Linked DNA regions of Homo sapiens: all the other regions are linked to region 2. The links are contacts of gene promoters, found by promoter capture Hi-C in human tissues and cell types (Jung and others, 2019). All regions are on one chromosome and are shown on one strand. The core of a region is centred on a gene start or on the middle of the fragment in contact, and the rest is flanking DNA. Distances in the headings are between cores, read along the strand shown.

Region 1 (3,446 bases), core at 947-3,446, 190 kb after region 2:
GCCATCACGCCCGGTTAATTTTTGTATTTTAGTAGAGACGGGGTTTCACCATGTTGGCTAGGCTGGTCTTGAACTCCTGACCTCAGGTGATCCACCCGCCTCAGCCTCCCGAAATGCTGGGATTACAGGCGTGAGCCAGTGCGCCTGGCCTTTTCTTTTTTTGAGTCTCGCTCTGCGCCCAGGCTGTGCCTGGCTCGACTGTGCCTCCTTTCATGCAACCATGCTGTTTCTCACTTTCAGTAACAATATTCAATAAATCACATGAGATATACAACATTTTATTACTATAAAAAGGGCTTTGTGTTAGATGACTTTGCCCAACTGTAGGGTAACTTAAATGCTCTGAACACGTTTCAAGTAGGCTAGGGCTGAGTGTGGTAGCTCATGCCTGTAACCCCAATACTTGGGGAGGCTGAGGTGGAAGGATTGATTGAGCCCAGGGGTTTGATACCAGCATGGGCAACGTAGCAAGACCTTGACTTCACAGAAAATAAAAAATTAGCTGGGTGTCGTGGCATGTGCCTGTAGTCCTAGCTACTTGGGAGGGTGAAATCACCGGAGCCCAGGGAGGTCAAGGCTGCAGTGAGCTGAGATGGTGCCACTGCACTCTAGCCTGAGTGACAGAGTGAGACTCTGTCTTTAAATAAATAAATAAAAATTAGCCGGGCGTGGTGGCTCACACCTGTAATCCCAGCACTTTGGGAGGCCGAGGCGGGCGGATCACATGGTCAGAAGTTCGAGACCAGCCTGGCCAACATGGTGAAACCCTGTCTCTACTAAAAATACAAAAATTAGCTGGGCGTGGTAGCAGGCGCTTGTAGTCCTAGCTATTCGGGAGGCTGAGGCAGGAGAATCACTTGAACCCAGGAGGCAGAGGTTGCAGTGAGCCGAGATCATGCCACTGCACTCCAGCCTGGGCGACAGAGTGAGACTGAGTCTCAAAAAAATAAAATAAAATAAAATAAAAATAAATAAATAAAAATTAGCCAGGCATGGTGGTGCAGGCCTGTAGTTGAAGCAACTTGGGAGGCTGAGCTGGGAGGATGGATGGAGCCTGGGAGGTGGAGGCTGCAGTGAGCTGTGACTGCACTACTGCACTCTATCCAGCCTGGGTGACAGAGCAAGACCTTGTCTCAAAAAAGTAGGCTAGAGACCAGCCTGGGCAACATAGTGAGACTCTATCTATCTACAAAAAATTTTAAAAATTAGCTGGGTATGGTGGTGTATGCCTGTGGTCCTAGCTACTGGGGAGGCAGAGTTAGGGGGATTGCTTGAGCCCAGGAGGGTATAATGAGCTATGATCACATCACTGTAATCCAGCCTGGGCAACAGAGCAAGATGCTGTCTCCATTAAAAATAAAATAAAAGTAGGCTAGGCAGGCCGGGTGCGGTGGCTCACGCCTGTAATCCCAGCACTTTGGGAGGCCAAGGCAGGCAGATCACAAGGTCAGGAGTTCGAGACTAGCCTGGCCAACATGGTGAAACCTCATCTCTACTAAAAAAAAAAATAAATAAATAACAAAAAATTAGCTGGGCGTCGGGGCAGGTGCCTGTAATCCCAGCTACTCAGTGGGCTGAGGCAGGAGAATCGCTTGAACCCAGAAGGCGGAGGTTGCAGTGAGCCGAGATCCCGCCACTGCACTCCAGCCTGGGTGACAGAGTGAGACTCTGTCTCCAAAAAAAAAAAAAAAAAAAGCAGGCTAGGCTAAGCTATGATGTTCCTTAGATTAGGTGTATTAAATCCATTTTCAACTTACAATATTTTCAACTTACGACGAGTTTATCAGGAAGTAACACCATCGTAAGTCAAGTAGCATCTGTATCAGGCAAAGTCATAGAACCATTTTCATGCTCTCTTTAACAATTTTCTTTTTGAAAGCTGGTCTGGTCCTTTAAAATATATATTATGGTATAAGTTGGTGTTCTGAAGTTAGTTAGCTACAACCAGGAGCCATTGTCTTTGAGGCATCACTGCCCCCTGATGGCAAATGCCCCAATTGCAGGTAAAACAGTCAAGAAGAAAACGGCATTTTGAGTGTTAGACTGGAAACTTTCCACTTGATAAGAGGTCCCAAGACTTAGTACCTGAAGGGTGAAATATTCTCCATCCAGTGGTTTCTTCTTTGGCTGGGGAGAGGAGCTGGTGTTGTTGGGCAGTGCTAGGAAAGAGGCAAGGAAAGGTGATAAAAGTGAATCTGAGGCATAACTGCACCCTTGGTCTCCTCCACCGCTTCTTGTCCTGCTTGCTTACCTCGCTTAGTGCTCCCTGGGGGCAGCTCGTGGTGAGGCTCCCCTTTCTTGCGGAGATTCTCTTCCTCTGTGCGCCGGTCTCTCCCAGGACAGGCACAAACACGCACCTCAAAGCTGTTCCGTCCCAGTAGATTACCACTACTCAGGATAGGAAAAGAGAAGCAAGAGGCAGTAAGGAAATCAGGTCCTACCTGTCCCATTTAAAAAACCAGGCTCCATCTACTCCCAACCACCCTTGTCCTTTCTGGAGCCTAAGCTCCAGCTCCAGGTAGGTGGAGGAGAAGCCACAGGTTAAGAGGTCCCAAAGCCAGAGAAAAGAAAACTGAGTGGGAGCAGTAAGGAGATTCCCCGCCGGGGATGTGATGAGAGGTGGATGGGTAGTAGTATGGAAGAAATCGGTAAGAGGTGGGCCCAGGGGTCAGAGGCAAGCAGAGGCTGGGGCACAGCAGGCCAGTGTGCAGGGTGGCAAGTGGCTCCTGACCTGGAGTCTTCCAGTGTGATGATGGTGAGGATGGGCCTCCGGTTCATGCCGCCCATGCAGGAACTGTTACACATGTAGTTGTAGTGGATGGTGGTACAGTCAGAGCCAACCTAGGAGATAACACAGGCCCAAGATGAGGCCAGTGCGCCTTGGGGAGACCTGTGGCAAGCAGGGGAGGCCTTTTTTTTTTTTTTTTGAGATGGAATCTCGCTCTGTCGCCCAGGCTGGAGTGCAGTGGCGTGATCTCAGCTCACTGCAAGCTCCACCGCCCAGGTTCACGCCATTCTCCTTCCTCAGCCTCCCGAGTAGCTGGGACTACAGGTGCCCAGCACCACGCCCGGCTAATTTTTTTTTGTATTTTTCAGTAGAGACGGGGTTTCACCGTTAGCCAGGATGGTCTCGATCTCCCAACCTCGTGATCCGCCTGCCTTGGCCTCCCAAAGTGCTGGGATTACAGGCATGAGCCACTGCGCCCAGCCAAGCAGGGGAGGCCCTTAGCCTCTGTAAGCTTCAGTTTTTTCAACTGTGCAATAGTTAAACCCATTTACTTTGCACATCTCATGGGGTTATAGGGAGGTCAAATAAGCAGCAGGAGAAAGCCCCCCTACTGCTCACCTGGAGGGCCACTGACAACCACCCTTAACCCCTCCTCCCAGAGACCCCAGTTGCAAACCAGACCTCAGGCGGCTCATAGGGCACCACCACACTATGTCGA
Region 2 (4,246 bases), core at 1,677-4,176:
ACCTTTTGTGCTCCTATGGCCAGCATCCACCTTACACAGCAGCAGAGACTCAGGTTCTCATGCCCTCAGCTGGGGATCCCTGAGCATCCGGGTCTTCTGAAATGGACTGCTGCAAATGCTAAGTTCTGCAGCAACTGGGGAGAAGAGTGTTGGAGGGAGTTGCACAGAAAGGACCATCCACTGAATGTTCCAGAAGGCAGCAGAGTACAGTAGTTAAGAGCACAAGATCTTCAACCTGATTGCCCGGGTTCAAATACAGCTTCACCTCTTACTAGCTAAGTGACTTGGGGCAGATTACTTAACTTCTCTGGACCTCAGCTGCCTCACTTGAAAAAGGGAGGTAGAGTGCCTACTTCAGGGTGTTGTTCTGAGGACAGAGTGGCCACATATAAGTGCCCTGAGGACAGGCTGGTGCACGGTCAGTGCTAAGCAAGTGTGTGCTGCCATTATTATCAGCGAAGCCCCAAGAAGGGAATTCCCAGTCCTGGGGGAGGGCTGACAGGGGCTGGCATAGGCACAGCCCCCAGACTATAGCCACTTTCCGGGTCCGTTTCCCATGTGCTTTTGGAAGATACGCAGGGCAGACAATCAGCCCCATTCTGCAGATGAGGAACTGAGCTTCCTTCAGATCAAGTGCCAGTGAGGGAATGGTAAAGACGCCAGAGCTCCTCAGCCCTGGACCATGGCTCCTTTCTCTTCACCAGACCGTCACTGTGCACCTGTTGAGCAGGCTCCCACGGCAGCCACCCCTTCCCAGCCCCCCATGCCGGAGGGCCTGTCCGCAGCACCCTCCCTTCCCCCACGTACACACATCCTTCCAGTGGGGCCGGGCACAGTAGACAGTGGTGTGCAGGCTTGGAATGCACTTGCACACACACCCCTAGAAGGGCCCAGTCCCCAAAGGTGAGGAAAACCTGTTCTGAGGAATCTGCCTAGTGAGCGAATTCTGTTCTGAGGCCCTTCCACCGTCGCAGGAGTGGGGCCCAGTGTGCGTCAGAGATACCCACAAGGGGGGCAGAGAGAGGGAGAGGGTGAAGCAGGAGGAGGCTGAAAACTTCACGTTTCTTTTTTCCATTTTAGTGACAAGAGTCACACCCAGCCTTTACATAAACATGGCCAAGGAGCCTCTCTGTCTAAGCTTACTTCCCTTGTGGCCGCCCAGCCTCTCCTCCGGGTGACCCTGACACGCTGGGCAGGCTCATGAGGGGCAAACATACAGACCCTGCAAAGATTAGCTGGGCCATCTGACAACACCCATGCCTCCCGCCGGCCTCCATGCGCTACCCTGCATTTATCTCCCGCCTTCCTCATACCAAATCCCCTCCGCAGCCCCACCGCCACTTAAGCACACAGACGGCAGGCACGCACACACAGCCTGCTTGCGGCTGGCCTCTTGGGTCTGAGGCCCACACTGCCCTTGTCACGCCACCTCCCTCCCCACATGTGTTTTCTGACCAGTTTGCCTCCCAGCTCAGCAGCCCAGACAGGCTCCTACAAACAACGTCACAAAAGAATCCTGTGGAGAATGTTGCAAACACACAACCTTCCCCTCGCTTGGCTGCCCATGATCCCATAAACACAACTGGCGCATTCCACCTCGAGCCCCTCACACCAGTGCCAACTGACCCACAGGCCCCTGAGACATACCCCGGGGTTCCTCGCTCCTCTCATGATCTTTGGGATCTGAGTTCTAGACGCGCAGCCCCCATGCAACGCGCTCATCACAGACACGCAAACCCATCCATCGCCCTCTTCACCACTGGACCACACCTCAGCAGGGCCACAGAAATGGGACCCAGACGTGACGCCTTCTGACTCAAAGGCCCACAACCGCCCCCTCCAAAAGGGCACATACACTGCATCCTGGCACCCTCCGCAACACATACAGCATGCCAGCTCTGCAGAAAACAGTTCATAAACAGGTCATAGGTGCAGCACAAGACACACATGCGAGAAAACACATGCTGTAGAAAACATACAGCCCCACATCGAACAAACTCTGCACCCAGCATGCTGTGCCCTGCTCAGAATACCCATCTGTCACCCAAAGCCACAGGGCTCGTCTTGTAACTCTGCCCCACAACACTGGACACCCTTCCTGGCTTTCTATCTCCATGGCCCAGGGAGGGCCCTACCCAGACCCCTGGCTGCCAGCAAACGGTGGTGCCCAGGAGAGGTTTACCTTGCCCCACCACACAGCACAAGACACACGATCTCCAAGACTCACAGCCACAACCCTGCCCCGACGGCGCGGCGGTTCCGGGGCCCCAGCTCGCCCTGCGCACCCCGCACACCCCAACTCTGGGGCGCTCGGCGGCCCACCCCTCCCCCTCTCTGCCTGGCTCCTACGCCATCACCCTCCCAGCAGCTTGCAGCGCTTGCCCGGGCTCACACCCGCCCCACCCCACCCCCAATCTGCCCCACGGGGGGAGGGGGCCATTAGGCTGCAGAATTAACCCTTCAAAGAGGGAGTGAGCACCTCCCCTTCCACGGCCCCAGGCGATCGCGTCCCACGGCCGCCCCTCGCTCGGACGCCATACCAGGGCCCCCTTAGTCGCCCCCCAGCGTCGTGCGCGCCCGGGGGCGGGGCCAGGCTCAGCCCCCGACCCCTGCGCCCCCAGGTCAACCCCAAAGGAGAGCGGTCTGGGCGCGGGGCGCGGTCGGGGCTCCCGCAGCGCCGGGCAGCGGAGAGGGGGCCTGGCAGTTGGCTCCGGTCCGCCCTGGCCCTGCCCAGTTCGCCCCAGGGCCCACCTGACTGCGATGGCGCCGCGTCCGCCAGGCCCGGCTCATCACCGTGGCCGCCCCCGGCCGCTCCGGTTTTGCCCGCCTCCAGCTCCGGCTCCGGCTCCAGCTCCGGCCCTGGCCCCCCCAGCGCCTGGCCCCGGCCCGGCCCCGCTGCCGCCGCCGCCGCCGCCGCTGACATCATCGGCTCCCCCCGCCCCGGTCCTACCCCCACCCCCACCCCCGGAAACAGTCCCCCCCCAGCGCCGCCGCCGCCGCCGCCGAGAGGAGGCCGGCGCAGCGCAGCCGACACCGACACAAAGCTCCGAGCGCCCGACGGCCTTCCCCAGGACTGACCCCCGCGGCATGACACTGCGCCGCGCTGGGCCACCGGGCGGGTGGACACCGAGCGGGGCGCGGGCCGGGCTGCAGCATCCCGGCAGGGGCGCAAGACCACCGACCCCCAGGGAAAGGGCTCCCTCCGCCCTTCCTCCTGCACGCCCTTCACTCAGCGGTGCACACTGCCTGAAAGCATAACACACAGGCTCTCAGGGTGCAGACATGACATGGCAGACTCATAATCAGGCCCGGTGGGACTCACAGACCCAGGGTCGGCACACTCAAAGAGGGCCAGCCCTGGACACACACACACACCCTCTCCAGGAATGCGCAGGAAAGCTCAGCAGGCCGCGGAAAAAGAAGGCCCTGGCCCTGCATACGGGGCACACACGAACGACCACCAGCGCAAATGAACACATGAAGCTGGCTGGGTACTTTGTCCCCACCAGCAGATAGATCCACATCTGTATACTTGAACATAAATGCAGAGGCCTTGGTGTCGGCCTCTGGGGACAGCATCAACAAAACACCAGGTGGAAGCACACACAGAAAAAACACATTCCTGAAACTCCACAGGGACAATCCCAAGAACTCCTCCCTGGTGCTGGAAAATTAAAAACTAAGGAGATGGAGGAGCCAGGGTTCACAGCTCCTTGCCTTAAAACCTCTCTGAGGCTGGGCGCGGTGGCTCACGCCTGTAATCCCAGCACTTTGGGAGGCCGAGGTGGGCGGATCACGAGGTCAGGAGATCGAGACCATCCTGGCTAACACGGTGAAACCCTGTCTCTACTAAAAATACAAAAAAATTAGCCGGGCGTGGTGGCGGGCGCCTGTGGTCCCAGCTACTCGGGAGGCTGAGGCAGGAGAATGGCGTGAACCTGGGAGGCGGAGCTTGCAGTGAGCCGAGATCTCGCCACTGCACTCCAGCCTGGGCGACAGAGACAGACTCCGTCTCAAAAAAAAAACAACAACAAAAAAACCTCTCTGAAACCATGCAAGATATAAATAAACAAATTAATGTAAAGCCACAGAGCTAGCCATAAAAAGAATAAAAGAATCAGACAAACTTTGGAGTCATGGAGACATAAATAGAAAAGAAGCAGAGTTGGGCTGGGCACGGTGGCTCATGCCTGTAATTCCACCACTTTGGGAGGCGGGGGGTGGTGGGGTGGATCACTTGAGGTAA
Region 3 (4,160 bases), core at 743-3,242, 170 kb after region 2:
TCCTGGGGTAGACTGTGCTTACTCCTGACTTCACACCTCTGTGCCTTTCATTCCTTTGTCCTGGAAGACTACCTACCCTTCAGAGGCCAGCCCCAACTCCCATTCATTCATTCATTCATTCAATGCATACCATTTTTTTGAGATGGAGTTTTGCTCTTGTCCAGGCTGGAGTGCAGTGACACAATCTCGGCTCACTGCAACCTCCACCTTCCAGGTTCAAGCAATTCTCTTGCCTCAGCCTCCTGAGTAGCTGGGATTACAGGCTCCCACCACCGCACCCGGCTAATTTTTTTAGTTTTAGTAGAGACGCAGTTTCACCATGTTGGCCAGGCTGGTCTTGAACTCCTGACCTCTGGTCTCGAACTCCCTTGCTCAGGTGATCCATTGGCCTCGGCCTCCTATAGAGCTGGGATTACAGGCATGAGCCACTGGGCCTGGCCGAGATAATGATTTTTTTTTTCTCTCTTTTTTTGAGACGAAGTCTCACTCTATTGCCCAAGCTGGAGTGCAATGGCGTGATCTCAGCTCACTGCAAGCTCCGCCTCCCGGGTTCAAGCAATTCTCCTGCTTCAGCCTCCTGAGTAGCTGGGACTACAGGCACCCACCACCATGCCCAGCTAATTTTTTTTTTTTTTTTTATTGAGACGGAAGCTCTGTTGCCCAGGCTGGAGTGCAGTGGAGCGATCTCGGCTCACTGCAAGCTCCGCCTCCCGGGTTCATGCCATTCTCCTGCCTCAGCCTCCCAAGTAGCTGGGACTACAAGCTCCCGCCACGACGCCCAGCTAATTTTTTTTTTTTGTATTTTTAGTAGGGACGGGGTTTCACTGTGTTATCCAGGATGGTCTCGATCTCCTGACCTCGTGATCCACCCACCTCGGCCTCCCAAAGTGCTGGGATTACTGGCGTGAGCCACCGCGCCTGGCCTAATTTTGCATTTTTAAGTAGAGACGGGGTTTCACCATGTGGGCAAGGCTAGTCTCGAACTCCTGACTTCGTGATCTGCCCGCCTCGGCCTCCCAAAATGCTGGGATTACAGGCATAAGCCACCGTGCCCGGCTTGAGATAATGATTCTTAACATGTGGTATGTAGAGCAAGTGTACTCCCGCCCTAGACTGTGAGCCCCGTGAGAGATGTGGCTTCAGTGTAACCTCTCTGGCCTCCCCAGGGCTACAGCACACAGTCTATAGAGGTGCTCAATAAATGTTTGTTGACCCAAGTAGACACATAAGGAGGTGAGTTCCGACGTGGGGGTGGGGGTGCCAGGAGGCAGAGAACCGAAGTAGACCTGGCTGCAGGGCTGGGATCTCAGGGCAGTGCTGGGGACTGGGAATGTGGTGTTGAGAGGGCTTCAGGGAGACGTGATGGGAAGATGGGGAAGCCTCTGCACGTGGACAGAGCCAGGTGGTGTGGACAGGGGCTGTGAGATTGGAGAAGGAGGCGTCTGGGGGACTGGTAGCGGCTCCCAACAGGGGAACGTCCCTCTGGGGGTGGCCTTTATCCATCTCTGCGGGGCCTGTCCTAGCTTCCCTCCTGGCTCGGCCAGCCTCCCGGCTGGTCTCTTCGCTCTCTTTCTTGATCTCTAGCTCTTTATTCCTCTGACATTCTGCCCCATCTGCTCCCGGACTCTTCCGCCGCATCTGTATCTTAGTCTCTTTCTAACTCCCTGCCTGGGGCCCCCACCTTTGAGCATATATCGGCTTCTCTCTCTGCCGTTGTGTTTCTCTGGGGTTATCTTTCCCTCTACTCCGCCCGGACACGCCCTCTATCTCTTCCTCCCACCCTGTCCCAGTCTAGTACCTGGGGTGGGGGTAATGGAGAGACAGCTAGGTCCCTAAGAGAAGTCAGGGGGGCGGGCCCAACCTCTCCATATTTACATATGTATGAGGTCGCCTGGGCCAGTGGCGAGGAGGCGGAGCTTCTGGGGGTGGGAAGGGGGCGGGCACCCCCAGAGCCGCAGAGTATAAAGACCGCGCTCGGCGACCGCGGGCCTCGCACTGCTGAGGAGCGGAGCCTCCGCCTGGGGGGCCCCCCATCCCTGGCTGTCCCCCAGCTGCGCGTCCCCGCCCCACCCCCGCGGCTGAGCCACCACCGGTGCAGTGGTCTCCGCTTGGCGGAGCGAGCCTTGAGCTTCGTTCCACAGCTTCTTTGCATCTTGGATTTCGGGGCGGCCCCCTCCCCCACCTCTCTCTGCCTTTTTGTACCCCGCTTTTTTTCTGCGTTCTGCTCGGTTTTTGTAGCCGTCTGTTTTTGCACCCCATTTCGTTTTGTTTCTAGACGGTTTGGTGGGGGGTGAAGCTGCATTCATACCCCTTCCTCTTGTTATTCTCCCCTGCTCTGACAGCACCCCTTTTCATCGCAGTTGGGGGGCCTAGGATCGGTGCATCTTCCGCCGCGCTGCCAGCACCCCGCAGCGCGTGGTCGTGCACCCCGGAATCTGCAGCAGCTGCATATCTGAGGGGGGTCTCCTTTGCCCGCGCCGCCTTCGCTCCCCGTGCTTTTGGGTGTGTGGAGGGCTTCAGCGCGCGGCGCCCCCGCTTCTCCGCAACCCCCCGCCCCGCGCCCGGACTCGCCCCGCGCCACCAAGATGGTCATCCAGAAAGAGAAGAAGAGCTGCGGGCAGGTGGTTGAGGAGTGGAAGGAGTTCGTGTGGAACCCGAGGACGCACCAGTTTATGGGCCGCACCGGGACCAGCTGGGGTACGCAGGGCCGGCACGCAAGGGGCGGGGGAAAGCCGCGGGGCGACGCCTCGGGGGCGCAGGGTCCCGCCGACGCGGCCCCAGCTCCCCTCCCGGGTCCCCGGCGTCCAGCCTCCCTGCCGGGCTCTGGGCTGGGAGGGGGCCGAATCGCCAGTCTAATCTCCCCGGCTGGCCGTGCGGAGGCGGAGAAAGTAGGTCACAGCCGCCTTCCCGCCCCCCGCGGAGCCCCCTCGGGCGGGGGGTCGCCAGCTCCGCCTGCGTGTCCGCGCCGGCGCTCACACTCCCTCTCGGGGCCTGTCCGCTCCACACGGGCGTCCCCCACCTCCAAAGAGCGCCCCTTCCCTCCCTCCGGCTCTCACTAGCTCCGCAGCCCCGTCTATTTTTAGCTCGTGCCCACCCCCTGGACCCTGGGAACGTTCATGAGGGGGCGGGTCTTGGGGGGTGTGTTAGGGGGGTTCTTCACGGCGGAAGTTGTCTGTATCCCACCGCCTGGCCTTGGGAGCCTTCTGGGACTGCTTTGTGGGTTGGGGGGCTGCTGATAGTATGAGTTTTACCGAGGCTGCAGGTTTTGCTCCCATGTCGGTGACGGAGGGAGGAGTGGTCGCTGTGGTGATTTGTGTGCATCAGCCAGCCAGGTGTCTGTGACAGTCGGATGACTTGGAAGCCTCCCCAGGCTGACCATGGCAGGACTCAGGGAGCTGTAGTGGTCGGGGGTTGGGGGGGTGGAGGGGGTCTGGTGACCGGCACAGGTGCAGGTGAGGGGTGGAATTCTTCCAAGAGGGATGGTCAAGCTGGGACGTTGAGACACAGGGGACAGAGGACACTGTGTGACACGATTTACAATCTTTCCACACTGGGCACCGTCCCCATCAGTCCACCCATTCGGGGCCTACACGAAGTGGGTCCCATGCAATCCATTCCCTCAGGGAACTCAAACTCCAGCCCCTGGGATGAGAAGAATCCAGCAATGCTTGGGAGAGCCAGAGGACTTCATGGAAGAAGTGTCCTCTGAGATGGAAGGATTGGGAGTCCAGGGTGGTGGGAACAGCCGGCCCTTGGGTCCTTACTTCAGGCGGGGGAGCCATGGAGAGATCCCACCAAGGGAAGGCTGTGGGAGATTCTGCCTTTCCTCCCTGCCTCTGCCCAGGGTGCTGGGTGTGAACTGAGGGTGGGGTGACTGTTGAAGGTTCTAACAAGCCGTCTCTGAGAGATTTGTAGCTAGGCTAGTGTTAGGTCTTTCATTTCAGGAACTGTGTTCAAAGTTTGGCTTCTGAAGGGCACCAGGAGAGAGATGTTGCTATTCAAATCTGAGGGTCCAGTCTCTGCGGGGTGGTATGAGGGTTTGCTTGTGAATGGTGGCCAGTACCCGCTTTAAAAGGCACCATGCTAGCACAGCTTTAAGCATGAGTACGAATGCAGAGGTAACAGATGTGTGCCTTGTCAGGACTATGCATGGTTGAGAA

Evidence for each region. Contacts are between HindIII fragments. The study calls those that stand out against the background at their distance.
Region 1: a fragment that was not itself captured here is called in contact with the fragment with the promoter of ZBTB4 in region 2 in 1 of the 25 tissues and cell types used here (adrenal gland).
Region 3: a contact is called between the fragment with the promoter of ATP1B2 here and the fragment with the promoter of ZBTB4 in region 2, in 1 of the 25 tissues and cell types used here (mesenchymal stem cells).

Annotation. Positions count from the first base shown.
Region 1 is chr17:7,671,450-7,674,895 of GRCh38, forward strand. It overlaps TP53 (tumor protein p53), which reads right to left. Exons shown (of 11, transcript NM_000546.6): 6 at 3,410-3,446; 7 at 2,732-2,841; 8 at 2,252-2,388; 9 at 2,086-2,159. Among named protein-coding and RNA genes, the nearest start is that of TP53, 14 kb to the right of the region's middle. The HindIII fragment of the contact is 4,764 bases long and covers 1-3,446 here.
Region 2 is chr17:7,476,705-7,480,950 of GRCh38, forward strand. It overlaps ZBTB4 (zinc finger and BTB domain containing 4), which reads right to left and starts at 2,927. Exons shown (of 4, transcript NM_001128833.2): 1 at 2,752-2,927. RefSeq lists silencers at 2,234-2,283, 2,544-3,003, 3,024-3,283. The HindIII fragment of the contact is 10,425 bases long and covers 516-4,246 here.
Region 3 is chr17:7,648,934-7,653,093 of GRCh38, forward strand. It overlaps ATP1B2 (ATPase Na+/K+ transporting subunit beta 2), which reads left to right and starts at 1,993. Exons shown (of 7, transcript NM_001678.5): 1 at 1,993-2,697. The coding sequence starts at 2,586. RefSeq lists enhancers at 645-1,145, 1,146-1,646, 1,921-2,563 and a silencer at 1,903-2,052. The HindIII fragment of the contact is 20,754 bases long and covers 1-4,160 here.